Linked DNA regions of Homo sapiens: regions 2 and 3 are each linked to region 1. The links are contacts of gene promoters, found by promoter capture Hi-C in blood cells and fetal thymus (Javierre and others, 2016). All regions are on one chromosome and are shown on one strand. Each heading gives the region's core, a stretch centred on a gene start or on the middle of the fragment in contact. The rest is flanking DNA. Distances are from core to core; before and after follow the strand shown. Region 1 holds the start of PEX2 (peroxisomal biogenesis factor 2). Region 2 holds the start of PCMTD1 (protein-L-isoaspartate (D-aspartate) O-methyltransferase domain containing 1). Region 3 holds the start of MTDH (metadherin).

The links. Contacts are between HindIII fragments. The CHiCAGO score rates a contact against its expected background, and 5 or more counts as called.
Region 2: the fragment with the promoter of PCMTD1 here is called in contact with the fragment with the promoter of PEX2 in region 1 in 2 of 17 cell types (total CD4 T cells and naive CD8 T cells); the score reaches 8.8 in total CD4 T cells.
Region 3: a contact is called between the fragment with the promoter of MTDH here and the fragment with the promoter of PEX2 in region 1, in 3 of 17 cell types (total B cells, fetal thymus and total CD4 T cells). The highest score is 9.8, in total B cells.

The regions. Positions count from the first base shown.
Region 1 is chr8:76,998,133-77,001,978 of GRCh38, reverse strand. It overlaps PEX2 (peroxisomal biogenesis factor 2), which reads left to right and starts at 1,901. Exons shown (of 4, transcript NM_000318.3): 1 at 1,901-1,989. RefSeq lists an enhancer at 1,612-1,906. The HindIII fragment of the contact is 1,935 bases long and covers 1-1,930 here.
Region 2 is chr8:51,897,208-51,901,053 of GRCh38, reverse strand. PCMTD1 (protein-L-isoaspartate (D-aspartate) O-methyltransferase domain containing 1) reads left to right here and starts at 2,018. Exons shown (of 6, transcript NM_052937.4): 1 at 2,018-2,124. PCMTD1-DT (PCMTD1 divergent transcript) reads right to left here and starts at 1,739. Exons shown (of 4, transcript NR_189279.1): 1 at 1,208-1,739. RefSeq lists enhancers at 902-961, 1,262-1,321, 1,492-1,781 and a silencer at 1,822-2,511. The HindIII fragment of the contact is 4,691 bases long and covers 508-3,846 here.
Region 3 is chr8:97,642,260-97,646,105 of GRCh38, reverse strand. It overlaps MTDH (metadherin), which reads right to left and starts at 1,922. Exons shown (of 12, transcript NM_178812.4): 1 at 1,219-1,922. The coding sequence starts at 1,599. RefSeq lists silencers at 793-961, 1,245-1,314, 1,585-2,044, 2,225-2,334 and enhancers at 113-1,091, 1,092-2,072. The HindIII fragment of the contact is 3,502 bases long and covers 1-2,707 here.

The DNA of each region.
Region 1 (3,846 bases), core at 652-3,151:
GGAACCTCAGCTCACCAGCTCATGGGAAAATTAAGAAGGTATACTGTATCTACAGGTTAAACATTAAAATCTAGAACTTATTTTAAACAATTTCAACAGAATTTTAACTGTTGCATGTTTCCCCGCATTCTTAATGAGATTCATTAAATATGATTCAAGTTTCTTGATATCTTTATTATTTTCATTCGCTACTGTGTGATGTTCACATGACATACATAAGGCTCTATGAACCAGAATTTGCTTTCTGAAAATGTCCTCTATGTCAATCAAGTCTTTGTGTGTATTTTCCCCCGTCCCTCTCAAAAATTAAGTGAAGCACAGCACATCTGTAGGCTACCTGAGAGGTGCAGCGTGGTTGGTTTTCTTCACAGTTGCTAAACGAAAGGCCTACTCTTCTTCAGTGAGATTTTTTTACTCTCTAGAACAGCAGTATCCATAGAAATATAATGGAAGCCACGTAATTTAAAATTTTCCAAAACATTCTCATTTTGACATGTAAGCAATATAAAATTAATGAAATACTTTACATTCTTTTTCTTTTCAGACCACGCTTTAGAAATCTGGTGCATGTTCTACACTTAGAGCAGACCTCAGTTCAGACTAGCCACTTTTCAGGTGGCCAGTGACTACTACACTGGACAGTTGCAGCTCTAGAAAATCCACTCCCAAACCCCTAAGTGAACTACATACTCTATCAATTTGTAGCTTCTACTCTATCTCATTTGTACCATTGTTTCACAATTTGGATAGCATTAGAGTTAATAAATTTTATTTTAGCAACTCTGCTCCATGGGTAGTTTCTGAAATAAAAATACAAGCAAAAAAAAAAAAACTTTCCTAATAACACTGGTTCTACAGTATAAGCTCTCCCTCGAATGTCTAATAGAGCTTTCGTAGAAGTGAGTGTTCCTTGTAGGAACGGTGAGTCGAGACTGGAGGTAAGAACTAAGACGTTCTTAAACCCTACTACGTGCTGGAATCCTGAAGTGCCTGCCATCATTCAAACTTAAGCACTAACTCTCTAGAGAGACACTGCCATTCATACCACAGAACGAGAAGGCAGTGGCGATCCTCAACGGCTACATGTCACTGCCTGGTGAGCACTCTTCCCTCAGACCCCATTCCCAGAAGCTCTGCCTCGATTCCCCAGGGGTAGGCGAGCTGGCTGCCCGAATTCCTAAGCGTTACCGGGGAGATGTGAGGGCCTCCGGGGGCGGGAAACCTCAGGCCAGGCGCGCGCTGGCCCGCTCTACGGGGTCTCTCGGGAGCGCTTTGCAGGGCGGATGACTGACGGGCCAGCTACCTGCCTTCCTGAGCCTGCAGAGATAAACAGCCTATCCTCCCTGTGCACACAGGCCCCGAGGGCGGGCAGGTCTCCAAGCGCAGCACAACTGCCCCAGGCCCGACGCAGCCACCTGCCCGAGGGCTCCCTCCCCACCAGGCCATCCCTCAGCCGGTCCTCCTCCGACAGCGAACAAGGAACCCCGGAGGCGCGGAGGCGTCTCGCCGCCACCCGGCGGCGCCTGCCAGAGGCCCTTCGCGATGTCCGCAAGCAGAGAAAGCCCTGCCCTCCCAAGCCCCGGCTTCCCCTAGGCCCCTCGACACTTGTAGTGTCCTCACTTGCGGCCCCTGACCCGGGGCTGACCGGTTCGTGACTCTCCTGCCAATCAGAGACAGAGTTCTTCCGGCCAACCGGCCAATCACCGCGCGCGGGTGTCCGCTTCGGCTTTTCGGCCCTTCGGCTCTTCGGCTTGTCGGCGTTCGCGGTTGTTTGGCCATCCAGTGCCTTCAGCAGCGCCGCTAAAGCGCAGTTCTCGTTGGTGTAACTTTTTCTTTTTTTTTTCAGCCACTTCCGGCTCCTGCGTCGCTCCGGAAGCCTGCGAGTTCCGGAAGCCTTGGTAATCCAGATTCGGCTAGGAAAAGACAAGCTTTCCAGAGAATGTTTCAGAGAAAGTTACGTGGAGCGTGGGCGTTTCGCAGACTCCTAAGGTCAGTGTCTGCCCTAGAGAGCCGGAGTGCAAACCCGAGGTCTTGTTTTCAGCTGGGAGGTCGTGGAGTTTCACGACCTTGTAATTGTCGCCGTTTGCTTTTTTTTCCCTGTTTATTGGCTTCCTGTCTCCCTGGAAAAGGCAAATCAAAGCTGCTGAATTTTGGGAAAGGCAGTGAAGCAAACCTAAACTCCTAAAGATGTTTTTAGGATCGCGGCATTAAAAATAAACACACACACAGCTGCAGTTGAGCCCCTCTGCATTCCACGTAGTAACTTAAGAGACGAACTTCGAAATCTTTTTCTCTCATTTGGCGGTCGTGAAGATATTTACCTCTTATAAACGGCTTTATAAAGAATTGAGGATCCAAACTTTACTTAATATCTGAAAGTTCATGTAAAGTGTTATATGTAGTACAAAAAATTTGAGTGCTTAGTTTTCTAACACTGTTGAAAGCGCACGTAAATGCAGTTTGGTTTTCTTATGGAGGAAGAGATAATGAAAAGTTTCTGATAAAATTGCTTGCGATAAATTAGTTATATTTCACGTTGACTTTTGATAAGAAATCTGAATGTGAGAATTGTTAACATTTTTTCCTGGGTTCTTAAATTAAAAATCGTTGTTTGTTTATTTATTGAGGTACCATTTTCCAAATTTCCCACATTTAGTGAAAGGGCTTTTGGCAAAATGAGCAAGCTGTTGAACGTTCAAGTCTAACACATTCTGTTAAACTTCCGTGATGCCCCTCGGAAATATTTTATCTTGACGTTTCGGACAATTAAATGATACTTGGGCGCTCACAACACCGCAGCTTGTAGTCTAAACACCTTCCCCTAAAGTGTTACCTTTACTTAATCCTGAACAGAATGAACTTGGGGTGGCTCTTTTAACTTATCTGATCTCACCTATATTATCAATTACTTGTTTCCAGAAAGATTACAGTTGAGTGATCTTGAGCCAGAAAGAGATTTGAAAGAATTATTTACAGAGTCAAAAAAAAAAACCCTTCATATTTTTTTCTTAAAAAAAAAAATAGAAGTAACAGGACATAGAGCGAATACTAGACTAGTAGACTGAAGAGTATTAGACTAAATCAAGACAGTTGGATTCTAGTCCTGACTCTAGTTGCCTTTGTACAATTTTACCTCTTGGCCGTATTCTCCTTATTTTTAGAAACTAGTGTTAGTACTCAAGCTGGGGTTTTAAAACTGTTCCATAGGAGAACTTGTGTAGAAATTTTCTGGAGCCGTGCAGGGAGAGACAAAGCAAGCCCACCCTCAGGTTTATTTTAACAAGAGCAGCCATTTAGGTGTTCCGCTTGAATAACAAGGTTCTTGTTAAGAAGATTAAATTTATGTCTTAAACGAGATGATCTGCCTTTTCTTCTAGCATTAAAATTCTGGTTTTTGGGATAATTATTCATTTGTACTCAATGTACATTTATTACAGTTTTTAAAAATAATATATTCACAGCTAATTTATTTCTAAAAGCTACAAATATGTCCCTATTCTGTTTCAATTTATTTTATCAATACAAATTTGAAATGTTTTTCTTTATGAACAGAATTAGAATTTATTATTCCTTCTTCTCCATATCCTTTTATTTTAGCCATAAAAGTTTTGCTTATATTTGATGCACATAATGATTCTTGCCGTAGGGAGGACAAGTATTTTTCATTTTACATATTTGGTACCTGAACGTTAAAGGTATTAGCAGGCTTGCTCATCATCACACCCATTAAAAGAGCTCAGTCCTAGCCCCATGTTTTTCTCACAACATCAAATAATTGTAAGTTTCTTTCCCTCTTGCACACCATCCACATTCTCAGGTTCCAATAGCACAAGGAAAATGTGTGAA
Region 2 (3,846 bases), core at 769-3,268, about 25 Mb after region 1:
TTTAACTTTCCAGCCGCAGAAGAGAAAAAAGGTCTAGAACCCTGAAAAATTCCCATAGCAGAAGGAAGAAAGTAAAGGAAAATATGCTTTTAAAAAATGGAGAGAAAACAGGGGAAACGGCTGTAAGAGTTGTTTAATGATTTTAGCTATTTTCCTTAGATTACCATTTGTACTTTTTTTGTTTGTTTATGGTAAGATAGTTTTCATGTGCCAAAATTTCTGCTTGGACTAACAGAAAATTCATCCTGTAAGATTGTTATATGATCCCACAACGGTTAGGAGTGCCCTGGGTCCAGGCAGAAATCCAAAGATGGAGCTAATAATGTGACCCGCAGCTCTACTCCAGAATGCAGATGAATAGAGATTTTGAACAGTTCGGAGCTCAATGTCCACTGAATATGCACTCATACTTTAAACCTAAATAAAGTGAAGCCTTTGAGTTAAATGGCAGAGCGCCTCAGCAGCAATTTTGCTCGTTTTCAAGTTCTTATTTCGTGATTTGAAGCTTTTGACCTTGCTAGCATGTTCTTTCTGAACGCTTTTGCAGATGGTTGGTTATGGTGGGGAGTAGTAACCCTAGCATAAAGACGTTCTAATTCTAACTTACCTTAGGTAACCTATAAGGGTAGCTTACGCTCACTCTCATACTTGAAAATCAAAACCGAACAGAATTCACACGATGGAAGCAAATCATGCTACAACCTACTATTAGAGACTGAAGGGAAACGCACAAAGATTAATGAACAACAAAGAACACTTCAAAAAGTACAGTATTTGGAAAAGACATGCCTTTATGTACACTAAAACTAATTTAAAAAATTAAATGCAGTTTGCTAGGAGTCTTACAAGTATTAACAGCATGTTCACTGCTTAGGATCCTTAGTAGCAATATTTTCCCGGCTCGCCTGCCCCTATGCCTCATTTCCTCTTCTTTTTTTTTTTGAGATGGAGTTTCGCTCTTGCCGCCCAGGCCAGGTGCCATCTCAGCACTGCAACCTCCGACTCCCGGGTTCAAGCGATTCTCCTACCTCAGCCTCCCGAGTTGCTGGGACTACAGGCGCACGGCACCACACCCGGCTAATTTTTGTATTTTTAGTAGAGACGGGGTTTCACCATGTAGGCCAGGCTGGTCTCTAAGTCCTGACCTCAGGTGATCCGCCTGTCTCGGCCTCCCAAAGTGCTGGGATGACAGGCGTGAGCCACTCACCCGGCCCTCTTCTCGACTTTCTATCCCTCCTCCTCAACACCCTTTCCTTCTGGAAATGGGCTTTGGGGTGGTTAACCAAGCCCAGGGAAACTTGCGTGGCCCAGCATCTTCCGTCCGCTGCAGGAGGAGCACACGCCCCCGGCCCGGGTCAGCAAGACGCGAGAAAGCGGCCACGCCGGGCGTCCGGGAGCTGAGGCTGGAGGGCGCCTGGCAGGCAGGGCGGGGCCCAGGCGGCGGGAGTGCTTATGACCGGCGCTGGGGGGAACTTCTGGACGTCAAGGGGCCACTATAAAGCGGCACAGTCTTGAGCCTTCGCTCTTCACCTAAGTCAGTGAGCGCCCTTCGCAAAGCCTCTGTGGAGGTAACCATTGGGGGTTCGCCTCCAAATCCAGGAATGCACCTCAAAAATGCTCCTACACCGTAAGACCGTGTCCTTCAATGCAAAGGGGACTGTGCGGCGAGGCACCGACAAGCCGTAGCCCTGAGACCACTGAAAGCCTGCACCCCAGCGCCGGTGCGAGAACGTGGAGATGGCGGTGGGGAGGAGAGGTGGAGGCCATGCTCTCGCGTGATCTCCCCTACCGCCATCGTCTTCTGGCCTGTCAAGGCCTCGCGTTGTTTGGGCTTGGGGGCGGAGCGAGCCCTGAGGGGGGCGGGGCCAGATGGGGGCGTCTCCCGGCCTTGTTGACTTTGGCGTCCGCGGGGAGCTGCCCCTGTGCCCGTGGTTCTCTGCGCATGCCCGGACCCCGGCGGCTCCGGAGTCCGGGAGGCTCTGGCTGCTCCAGTCGCGGGTCCGGGCCCCGCCTCTCCACTCGGCGGTGGCGTCCGTGTTGTTATTGTGGTGGTAGCGGCGTCTGGCTGCTGCGGACCCCGCCGAGTCCTAGCGCCTGGCCTGCGCGCCGCTGCCCGCGCCACAGGTAACGCCGCCGCCAGTGGGGGCTCGGGGTCGTGGGGTGTGCGAGTCCCGCGTGCTAGGGCCGGGCGGGCGACTGGGATGCGCTTGGAGGCCAGAGGGCCAGGGGGACGGCAGCCGAAGAGTCGGGGGCAGGGGGACTTAAGGGCGGGCAGGTCGGGGGCCAGGAAACTGAGGCGCTGCGGGGCAGGTTGGGGGAAGGACGGGCCGGGGGCGGAGGACTTGGGAGGTCGGGGAGTCGAAAGGGGCCCAGCGAAGCCTGGAGGTCGGGAGCCGGGGTCCCTGGGGCCGGGGAGGTCGGGGGCCCGAGGGAGGCCGGGGCGCCGCGTCCTCGGCCCGTCCTCGGCTCGTCCTCGGCTCTGACCTGGGCTTGGGGACCAGAGTCCCGAGGCTGGCGTCTTGAGATGCCCGCGGGCCCCTTAGGGCCGTTTTGGATCCGCCCAGTGACTTCTGTTTTGGTTTTGGAGGCAGAGAATCCAGTCTACGTAGACTCGGGGAAGTCTCGGGGGCTGGGAGGGGACTGAGAGGTTATAGCAGGCGCCAAGGCCTCTTTTTGTGTTTTTGAGCGTCTACTACCGTTCCGGGGAAGTGCAGTGCCCGCGTTTTGCTTGGGGAATTTCAGACACCGGCATGGGGAGGACCCACGGGCAGAACCCGAGGGAGTAATTTTGCAAATCCAAGATTTTTTGGAACTTCTATAATTTTGTTTTCGTGTGTCCTCTTTTTAGAATCGAGAAACCAGAGATATATTTTTAACATTACAAATCAGAAGAATTTGCTACGGAGGAAAAAAGTATGCTTTTAGCAGTGTTTTTCCCCTATTTATTTTTTTAATTACAAAAGTACTGCTTGCTCCTTGAGAAAAACATGAAGCAGCCAAACAATGAGGAAACCTGCCCTCTCTCGCGCCCTTCCCCCCATATTTCTCCTTCTTACTACCCAGGGTAGCCAGTCTCCAAGTGTGGTGGGTAGTTATTCAGGATTTTTTTTTTCTGTGCATTTAATGAGTGTGCTTTAGAAACAAGATTGGGATCATATATAGTACAGTATATCGTTTTATTAGCCAACAATGCATCATGGATATTCCTCCATTTTATTACACACCTCATTATTTTAAAAAACATTATTACTATGTATTAGAGAATCCAATCTACGTAGGCTTGGGGAAGCCTTTTCTTCATTGTTAAACATGGTCGCCAAGTTTTCAATAATCAGTAGCTTTGAAAAGGGCTACAAGCCAATATTTTGAAACAATGTGGCAAAACTTTCAGAATGTCTGCGGCCAGACGACATTACTTTCGTATTAAGCAGATTAATATGTTTACGTATTGCTTAATGGTAGTTTACATGAGGCTAGATGACTCCATAAAACATAAAGTTGCTGAATTAGTTTACTTTTTGGTTTTTTTTATTTCATTTTTTTCTAAGTAAATTTTAATTCCATATGGTCAGTTGAACACTTGTAATTTCTTTAACATGAAGTAGCTAATATGTGAAGGAAAGGTAAGGTAGGAAAGATAGAAAGCTAGTGGCCCTAGCCTGAGACAAGAAAAAAAAAGCAACAGGGATTAAATATTTTGGTAAGTAAGCTATAGGGAGTAAACTGGAAGTGGAGGGGTGATACTACACTGCCTACTATTAAGTAAGACAGAAAGCTAGGAAATTCCCATTGCATACTGTATTTCTGTGTGCAGAAGAGCTGGAGGCTTTGTTGATTTAATCACTA
Region 3 (3,846 bases), core at 673-3,172, about 21 Mb before region 1:
TCTCCTACCCTCCAAACCTCATTAACACTCAGTTAAAACCTCTTTAACACCTATCAGTCTATGCAAAATTCTAATTATTTATGAATCTGTCTCCACTACTCTCCAACACTGACTCTACGTGTATACCTTGCACTGCCCTCCAAACACCAGAGTGCAAATTTCACATGGTAGGGCCTTCGTACTGGCTTACTGAATTGTACTGAAAAGGTGAAGATCTTAATTCGCTGGATATAAAAATAGGTTAGGTGCTGTTTCTAACTCTGCATACCCTCCATAGTCTCAATTTGCTCAAATGTAAAATATTTTTAAAAATACATAAAACTATGAAAGATATAATGGGAGAACCATGGGAATGGCAATAAAGAATGTAAACGTAAAACATGAAGGCCTAAGACAGACGTGATGCCCTCTGCAACTTCCACACGTGGCCCAGTAAATCGGTGCCTGAATTCCTCTCTCGGCTTTCACCATTCTGCCCTGTCATCTCCCTTTACTCTATTTCACAAATCTACCACGCCACAGAGTGTGCAACAGACTCGTTCGTTGAACTCGCCTTAGCTCTTTCTCACAGGACCATACACCTCAAAGCGTATTAGGTAACCGACCCCCTCTTGCCTTGCTCCCGTTCCGGCCTCTGTTGGCCACATTTGCCAGAACAAGAATGGGCAACCATTTCCCTTTAACAGTCCCAACTAAAATGGAAGCGCGTCTAGACCTGGACACCTTTAATCCTGTGTAAGCCCCAGAATTTCTAGGTCACCGCACTTCTTCCACTGCCTACTGTCTCAATGTGACTTGAGATAGACATCTGTCTTCCGAGCGCAGTCTTTATACAACTTCCTAACACCACCTTAAGGTCCCATTACGCTCCACATGCAGCCTACTCTGCAGGCCTCAAGGAAGGATGCTGTGCTTATTCTAGCGGTGACGGTTCCCAAAGATGGCTTGACCTCTGGGCGCCTATCTGAACGGACCCCCAGACCTCCTAACTTCCTTCCTCGAAACTGGGCTTCCCCACTCGTCCTATACTTCCTGAGTTCCCCCCATTCCCCAAATAACATGACCACCTATCACCTCCTCCTCCACTTGGGAGTGCTGCCTCTCGGCTTTCGACTAAGCACTCTTTTCCTTCCCGGCTGGGGCGCGGCCTCCCCCAAGCTCGAGGGTCTCCACGCCCGCCCTTCGCCCGTTCTCTACTGCCGCTCATCCCATACTCACTTTGGGCTTCTCGGACAGTTTCTTCCGGTTCTTCTTCTTCTGTTCCTCGCTCCGGAGATTCTTCAGCAAGGCCAGGTCGTCGGGGGCCGCGGCCGGCACGGCCGCCGCCTCCTCCCGCTTGCGGGGCGGGCTCCTCCGCTTTTTGCGGGCGCCGGCGCAAGCCGCGGCCCAGCCGTAGCCCAGCAGAAACAGCAGCAGCAGCCCGAGCGCGCCAGTGCCCACCAGGATCACCCAGCCGGGGTACCGTTTCGGCTCCAGCCCCAGGTCGAGGCCCAGCTCGGTGCGCAGAAAGCCTAGGCCGACCGAGAGCATTTCCCGCAGCCGGGCCGAGCCCTCCTCGGCCTGCTGGGCCAGCTCGTCCTGCCAGCTCCGTGCAGCCATCTTCCCTCCCGTCAGAGGGACTCGCAGGATGACGCCGGGGCGCGGAGACGCAGTGGAATAGTCGAGGGAAGCGAGGAAGGGCCGGGCCGGGTAACCTCAGGCCGAGCGCATCGCGGCCGTCCCTCGCGCCGGAGCCGGGGATCGGCCGCTGCCACCGCGGGGAGGGCGGAGGGGTCTCCCAGGTTCCCCGCTGTCAGCCTCACTCCGCCGCCGCCAGGAGACCCGGGAGGCGGGAGGGAGTGTCTCCAGTGGCGGCCGCTAAGCGGCGTCTCGGCGCCAGCGCCAGGCCCCGCTGTCCTCCCTCGGCGGAACAATGGCGGCTTGGGCCGCGATCCACGCCGCGCGCGGGGACGACCGTGGGTCACGTGGGCGCCAGTGGGCGGGGCGTGGGCGTCACGTGGGGGCGGGCGGGGTCGGGTGGGGCAAAGGCGTGTCAGGGAAGGTTGGCGGTGGTCGGTTCGGGCCTGGTTAAGACGCGGCGTTGGGGACCCGTTACTGTAGACCAGAAGCTGGGAGGGGTTAATTGGTGGACGCCTTCGCGGGGTGGCTGGTGGCGCAGAGTTAGGAGACGTGGCGCAACGAATGAGTACAGAGGAGGGGCTCCGTGCAAGGCGGGGGCGGGCGGGGGGCGGGTAGGGCTGCAGCGCTAGGAACCGGGTCACCGGGTCTAGGTCAAAGTCGCCCTGGCAGGTATAGGGCTCTTCATGCCTTTTTCTGGAGTGTTATTGAGGTGGAATCGCTTTTTCTCCCTGGTGGCGCCAGTTGGATCCTTCCAGAATGAGCTCAACGGAGTCTGACGCCGAACACTGTTCTTCCGGGACCTAGGTTTAGTTCACAAATTGGGTATTTCTCTCCAGGGTGTTTCTCTCCAGGGCAACTAATACACTGCGTGCCTACCAGTTGCCAGCCTGGCGAGGGCACGTTTGCGTCGTTTGGCTCATTCACTCTTGCTCTCTGTTGTTAGTCCCCAGAATTCAAAAGTTGGAAAGCCCGTGGGCGGCACTATTCTTTTCCTACTAATTTGTAGCTTTAATAACACATAAGGGGAAGCACATTAGATTGTATTTACTTATGGAGGGAGCTTTCTCGTTACGTTTTATTTTAAGCTTTTCTACAACACTGCAAAAGGGGTTTGCAAAAATTCCATTTTTATATGCTATGTTGACCATCTCTGGGATGCAGCTATAGAAGGAAACGAACTGCCTTTTCAAATTTTTTTTTTTTGAGACAAGAGTCTCGCTCTGTCGCCCGGGCTGGAGTGCAGTGGCACTATCTCCGCTCACTGCAAGGTCCGCCTCCTGGGTTCAAGCCATTCTCCTGCCTCAGCCTCCCGAGCAGCTGGGACTATAGGCACCCACCACCACGCCCGGCTAATTTTTTGTATTTTTAGTAGAGACGGGGTTTCACCGTGTTAGCCAGGATGGTCTTGATCTCCTGACCTCGTGATCCGCCCACCTCAGCCTCCCAAAGTGCTGGGATTACAGGCGTGAGCCACCACGCCAGGCCTTCAGGTTTTAATTATAAGGGAAATGCTTGAAGGCTGCCTTAGGGTTTTAAGATTATATTTTGCTATAAGGAAACTCTGTATTTTATCGGTAAATGATCATTAGCGTGTAAGCAACTGTCTTAAGTGAACTAAATACAGGCTTTCTCAAGGAATACAGCAGGGGTAATATTAATAACCACCAAATACCAAAAATGTATTTTGACCTATTTTGCAACAGTGTCGTAATGCATATTGTGATTCATGTGTGGAAGGGAGTTTTGTAAATAATAAATAATAAAAGCATACTACACTTGCCAAGACTTATGATTAAAGACTAAATTAAATTAGGAGGCCAAAAACTTAGCAAATGTTATTGGGATCTGCTTTAACTCAAAGTTTCCAAATTCCATTTATATTTGTGAAATAAGATTTCTGCACGTGTTTTGGTTCTAGAGATGTGAAGGGTCATGATTTTCCTAAGAAGTTCCACTGACTATTCTGACCATTCTAGATAAACATCTGTGAATTTTTTATTTTTTATTTTTTGAGATGGAGTCTCGCTGTGTTGCCGAGGCTGCAGTCGCCCTGACTTCGTGATCCGCGCGCATGGGCCTCCCAAAGTGCTGGGATTACAGGCGTGAGCCACCGCTCCCGGCCCACCTGTGAATTTTCAAATTAAACTATTACAATAATGGCTGGTGCTGTGGCTCACGCCTGTAATCCCAGCTACTCAGGTGGCTGAGGCATGAAAATAACTTGAA